2 separate regions of the Homo sapiens genome follow, and region 2 is linked to region 1. Evidence: promoter capture Hi-C in 16 types of primary human blood cells and fetal thymus (Javierre and others, 2016). All regions are on one chromosome and are shown on one strand. The core of a region is centred on a gene start or on the middle of the fragment in contact, and the rest is flanking DNA. Distances in the headings are between cores, read along the strand shown.

What was found. The method cuts DNA at HindIII sites, captures the fragments that hold promoters and counts their contacts. A CHiCAGO score of 5 or more calls a contact.
Region 2: a contact is called between a fragment that was not itself captured here and the fragment with the promoter of COXFA4 in region 1, in 1 of 17 cell types (M0 macrophages). The highest score is 5.1, in M0 macrophages.

Annotation. Positions count from the first base shown.
Region 1 is chr7:10,938,717-10,941,834 of GRCh38, forward strand. COXFA4 (cytochrome c oxidase associated subunit FA4) reads right to left here and starts at 1,437. Exons shown (of 4, transcript NM_002489.4): 1 at 1,300-1,437; 2 at 92-180. The coding sequence starts at 1,341. LOC107986767 (a long non-coding RNA gene) reads left to right here and starts at 1,540. Exons shown (of 3, transcript XR_001745091.3): 1 at 1,540-2,015. RefSeq lists enhancers at 1,420-1,689, 1,574-2,494 and a silencer at 1,720-1,969. The HindIII fragment of the contact is 7,174 bases long and covers 1-3,118 here.
Region 2 is chr7:11,315,836-11,318,953 of GRCh38, forward strand. No RefSeq gene overlaps it. Among named protein-coding and RNA genes, the nearest start is that of PHF14, 340 kb to the left of the region's middle. The HindIII fragment of the contact is 2,721 bases long and covers 63-2,783 here.

The DNA of each region.
Region 1 (3,118 bases), core at 187-2,686:
CTACTACCCTAATGTTATCGCCCTACAGAGACTGTGGCTCCTAAACTGCCTTGATCAGCTATCAAAGTTTTAAACATTTTTAAGTACTTACCAAACATCTGGATTGAACAATGCCAGACGCAAGAGATACAGTGTTGCTCCAGTAGCTCCAGTTCCAATAAATACAAAGAGGGGGATCAACTAAACCAAACACAAAATAGAATAACCATCTTCAAATACTTAAAACACTGGCCAACGAGAGATTACAGTAGTTTCTGCACATTGATTTCCAAGTCTCAAACTGTTATTGGACTGTTTTGTCTTAAAATTTAAATAAAGTAGATCTTACATTGAGGTAAGATTTCTTATAACTGTGTTCTAAAGAAAGAAATGGAATTTGGAAAGGATGTTAAGATGACTCTGGTTTAAGTGTCTTACTTTTTAATGTGGAGCAAATTATAGGTACATTTTTAAATTTCCAAGAAAATGTATCGAGTCTTCTTCACCTCTCTAATATTTACATGTCATTCCCATTAAATTTTCTGGCTTCCTTTATCCTGGGGCTTGAAAAACAAATTCTTTGCAAATTATTTAAGGGTGCCTCTATAAAGATGTATGAAAAATAGAATCTGAATAAGTAAACGTATCTATTACAAATACTGGCTTTAAGCATTATCTCTGAAAACGTAATGCTACCAATGCTTGCTGCGTATTTAGGGAACCGGATTTAAGACAGATTAAAGATTGCATAGACTTTTAGCTCTACAGCACATTGATGTGCTGAGGAAAAATGAGATGCCAAAGAACTTAACTGCAATTTCCACACTTCGAAATTTTCCCAAAAGCAACGACGTCCAGACAAAGTGAGGATTCCAAGATCACGGACCCCTCTTATTTACCAAAAGGCCTGGTGGTGCAATGCGGCGAATACAAGAACCTCCAGAGATGGTATAACACATAGGGAACCTGACCTATGCTAGTCTCTGACCCACACAGCGCACATCTATCCCTCCTGGACCGCACAACCTGCAAAAGAGAGCGGCCACCAGACTGTTCCAATATTCACTAACTAGAAAAAACTAGGTTTTTTTTCCGAGCAGTGTCCGTCTCCTTCCTCCTGTCAGACAAAACCCCACAATGCATGGCGTAGAGGGTCACAGAGGCCTGGGACAACTAAGATGACAAACACTAGGCGAGGCAGGGTCTGGTCTGACGGACGGTAAGTGGCTGTAAATGAGGACGTTCCCAGGGAACAGAAAGAGGCGCACCCCGACGCAAGAAGGACAAGGGAAAACATTAGGAGAGCGGTCACGAACTTACGCTCGGATGCTTCTTGGCCTGACCGATGATCTGGCGGAGCATGTTTGCGGCAGAGGTCTCCGACTGGAAAGGAGAGAACCGACCTAGCCACCAGGCCCTAAGCTAAAAATTATCTGCAATGAGACACTACGGACTTCCAAAGTCACCCAGGACCTCCTACCTGAAGGACCCTTGGCTGGGAGGGCAGCTTGCGGCAGGAGGGCCCGGATGCGACTGTCTTTAATAGTGCCTGCTTAGATCTAACCCCTCATATGTTCGTCCTGACCTGGTCGGACCATCATCATTCCACTTCATAGTGAAATGCCTTCATTGCCGTGCCATGCATATTTCTGAGGGGAATTTTTTTGGTCGAAACGAGGACTCTTCGATTGACCAGACAGGCACTTTCCAAGGGTGCCACGTACTGAGGAATGCGGTCGGAGCGTGGGCGCACGGGCCGCGCGCTCCGTGAGTAGGGGGCCTCTCCCGCGGCGCCTGAGAGCCGGGTCCGCGCGCAGAGGCCCTGGGGGCGCGCGTGCCGGGTGCGCGCTGGCCAGCTGTGACTGCCGCTGAGGGAGCTGCGCGGCGCCTCTGGGAGCCGAGCGCCGGGCGCCTGGAGGGCAGGTCGGGCCTCTTGCCGCTAAGGTCAGCGGCTGCGGTTTGAGAAGACTGCAGCTGCTTCCTGTGTTACGCTGTCGCAGACAAGCAGAAGTTAAAAACTAGTAAATGACTTAAAGGTGATAATAGTCCTGGCAGTGTATTTCTGAACCCTCAGATCCTGGCCCTCGGTTGAAAGTTCGTCGCCACAAAGACCTTTCCAACACGCCACTATCCCCCGTCCCTGGTCCCAAATTGCATCTTTAAAATGTGTTTTCAATGGTCGTGTAGCTACAGATAATCTTTCCCACTACCCCAGTCGAATTTTCATTTGTCTTTTGTTTTGTTTTCTTCGTTGTTTTTTTTACCCGAAGGACTTCCATAGGACAGGCTTTGCGGGGGAGGGTGGGGGGATTGGGATAAAATGTACACTCTGAACCCTCTCCAATCTCATACGTAGCTTAAAGCATTAATCAAATGATCAAGCAAGTATTAATAATTGGGACTAGAAATCATAGGAGAAGGCTCCACCGGAAGTTACACTAGCTCTGAAGGAGGAGCGGACATTAACCAGGTGAAAACGGAGGATGCAGGTGTACAGGGCGGAGGTAATAACACGTGAAGGTCTGAAGCTATTGAAAACCCGAGGGAGCTGTATGAGGTCTAGTGTGGCTGGAAAGTAAAAGGGAGAGCAAGGTGGGGATCAGATCTGCTGGGCCAATAACCGCTTAAACATCATGGGTTTTATGTTGAGAGCTTGGGAAGGTTGTGTTTTTAAATGATTGCTTTGTGAATAATTGATTAGAAGGGATAAGCGTGAGAGGGGAAAGACCTATCAAGGGGCCATTGCAATAGTCCATAATCTGTGTGACAGATAATGGTAGCTTGAACTAGTGTAGAGAATGTAATGATGAGAAAAAAAGATTCCAGAGATGTTTAGAAGGTGGCACCAACAGGACTTGGTGGTTGGCTCTCCAGGAGTGAGGAGAGAGAAGTTAAGAATAATTTCAGAGGTTCAGTTTTGAGCAGCTCTGTGGTTGTTGATGCCAGTTATTGAAATAAGCCGTAGAGAATGATGTATAAGTGCCTATGTAAAATTCAAGTGGATCTCTATGGGGCAGAAGAGAACTACACTATAAGTATAAATTTAGGACTCAGTTTACTGATAAGAAATGAACCCATGTGACTGAATGAGATTACTTAGGGAGAGAAAGTTGACTGAGAATTTAGACAGAGGACACAG
Region 2 (3,118 bases), core at 173-2,672, 380 kb after region 1:
TGTGAAGCAAGAGACTAGAAGATTGACATCTCAAAGTGAAAGAGTAAAAATTTGCATCTGTAAGCTTTGTAAAGTAAATGTTCTAAAAAAGGGGAGGTCAGGGGCTTATACATTCAGGAAGAAGCCTGTCAAAAGTTTAGTCAAGCTGAAGGGAACCTTAAGAAGGTCTTGATCAAACAAGGGTATTCTCCTGTGGCTGTAGCAGTGGCACTGAGAGGCACAGTCTTCGAGTGTTTTGGAAGCAGTGGGTGTCACTGAAAAGCTAAGACACTGTGAGAAAATAACTCACGAGATACTTCCGGATCTCCTGGAAGCTCTTGGAGAGGTTTGCAAAAGTCTGAAAGTGTGTGCAATATAGGTAGGGGCAAGACCAGTGAAATTTGGGTCATCACCACTAATGTGATCCCATAGCCAGCCAGTGACTGGCAAGACCGAAGAAATACAGAGTATGGAGGTGAAATATTTCAACCTGACTTGGAACATGTTATACCCTTCAGTCCACGGGTGCACGTACTGTGACATTTTGCTGCTTTGTCCTTCATAAAAACAAGTGCTGTGGTAGCATGAAAATAACACTAGACAGACAGCTAAAAGACCTGAGTTTGTTTTTCTTTCTACCGGTTACTAGCTAAACTGACTTGGATGAGGCACCATCCCTCCTGGACTTCCTTATGGGGAATTGGGATAATACATCTACTTCACAGGGTTGTTATCAGGATTAAATCAATATACATGCCATCCTTTGCAAAGCACTATGAATGACAGATTAGAGGCTTTTCTTTTGATTTTTACCCATTACTTAACCAGTAGCCTTAATGTGACCTCAATTGTGTCTCTTTAGGACGGTGGTAACTTTTCATATTCAGATTATTCCTTCTGTGTACCTTTTGGGAAACTTTATTCCAATTCCCATTCATTTAAATGGTATATAATGTTTTAAATTGAACTTTTATCTCTATTTCATCTGTCTTTATTTTTTTTTTGTCTTGGACTTGGACTTCCTTTCTACAACTCTATCTCTTGGAGAACTTTTGTGATAAAATGGAGGTCAGTAGGAACCTTGACCCCACGCTTCTGTCTGAATACACATGTAACTGCTGCATTTGCTCACCACCACCAAAATGCTTCAGTGTTTGGTCAGTGGTTTTTAAGTTCGAAATGTATGCATCTGTTCAAATCTGTGTAAATTGTACTCTCTAGCCGTAAGTTGCTTGATATCAGTATCTATCTATATATAATCAAACAATTATGTTTGTAGAATATCTAAAGAAGATGCCAGAAAAATTTTGTACCCTTTGATAGAAAGTGTGGGTGTTGATTAAAAAAAAAGAAGAAATAAATCCACATTTAATGGGATAGTTAAACATCTGTTTACCAGAAAAAAATTAATTTCCAACTATAAAGGAATTGCTTATTTTTCCATTAAATCCTCAGAACAAACAAATAACAATTTTGAGAGGGCAATCTAAAGATGCAGTCGTGGTTACTTTGGTATTTGACCCTTTTTCTGTAGTAATTTAGTCTGAACAAGACCAAAGTGTGTGCTACTCTTTGGCTTTATAGCCCTCTAACCATAGGCGCTGATGGCATTCACGATTATGGATTAAATAGGGCCAACCCTTGTCAGTAATTTGTTAAAAAATTCCCACAGAGATACCTATGGTGCTGCTGAACAATGATGTTGGTAGTGTGCTATTTTGCTTTAGGAAAAGCTACTGCATTCCAACATGGGGTTCAATGGCTGGTCCTGGAAACCTCGTCTCTGTTTGATATAAGTTAAACCTTGAGTACACTCTGCCTGGTACTGAAATTAACATCTGGGTCCTGACCAAATTCTAACTTGTGAAATTGCAGATTACTTTACGACTGGATAAGAAATGTACTCCATCATATCTTAGCTTTGTTATTTAATTTTGCCTGGGGTTGTTAAATCACTGTAGCATTTTGCCACTGTGTGCAACCAGTGGGCTTTTAGAAATTTTAGCATGAAAGGCTCTCAAGAAAACATGAAACTCTTTTAACATAAGGTTATCTCCAGGAGGCTACTTTTTGGTTTAGTTATGTGATTGTATTTGAACAAATAGATTTTCTTTAGTTCTACTTAGTGTTCTTTTTTAAACTGATGGACTTTCACAATAGGTTTTCAGGTCTTGGCTTTTCAGTTTCATTTTTGGGGGTGTGGAAGTTTCAGAGTGAGATACAAACTGATTTGTGAGATGAAAAATATTAAAGATATGATCATTTGACAGTAATTTGGTGATCTGATTTTTTTCTGGAAATAACAAAGCTAATATTCTTAAGTGAGCGAAAAAATTTTTGAGGACAGCTACTGGATAGTTGAATATTTTATCCATTAATGAAATTGTTCACATTTTGAAGAGATTATTAACTGTGGTGCAATTGGATTCTTTGTGAAGTGGCAGCAAAAGGCTTCTTGGTTTACACCAGGGTCAGCAAACTACACCTTGCAGGCCACATCAGGTCTACCACTTGTTTTGTAAATAAAGTTTTACCGGGGCATAGTCATGCCCATTTGTTTATGTGTTTTCTGTGTCTGCTTTTGTAAGAGACTATATGGACTTTAAAGCCTAAAATATTTAGTATCTGTCCCTTTCTAGAACAAGTTTGCTTACCTCTGCTTTACATCATTAACTTGATCCTGTGGAGTCAGAGCTGGCTGTGCACATCCTCTAAACCAAGGGAGAAACAAATTACATATTTGAGAAACAATGCTAAGATTTTCCCATCCCTTGGACTCTGGCTAGACATTTGTGGCAACCACAAGCTTCACTTTCTCTTTTCTCCCTTTCTCAAGGTGCTTTTATCTGTGACTGCGGCACCAGCAGTTTGGGTTTGGTAGACTATAATATTGGATTGGTGGTGTGTATTTTTACATAAAGCCTTGGAGTTATTTTATTTTATTTTTTTGCAGAGATGGCTTCACATTTTAGACTACATGTTTATAACTGCCCTTGTGCTATAGTTGCTCTTATGCTGTAAAGCATGACAGCATACTTTTATCTTTTAACATTGGCCAAAACTGGTCACACAACCATTACTAAACCATTACTGTAGATTAATAAGAATCTGTATCTAGATTTAAAAATTTACATTTTTG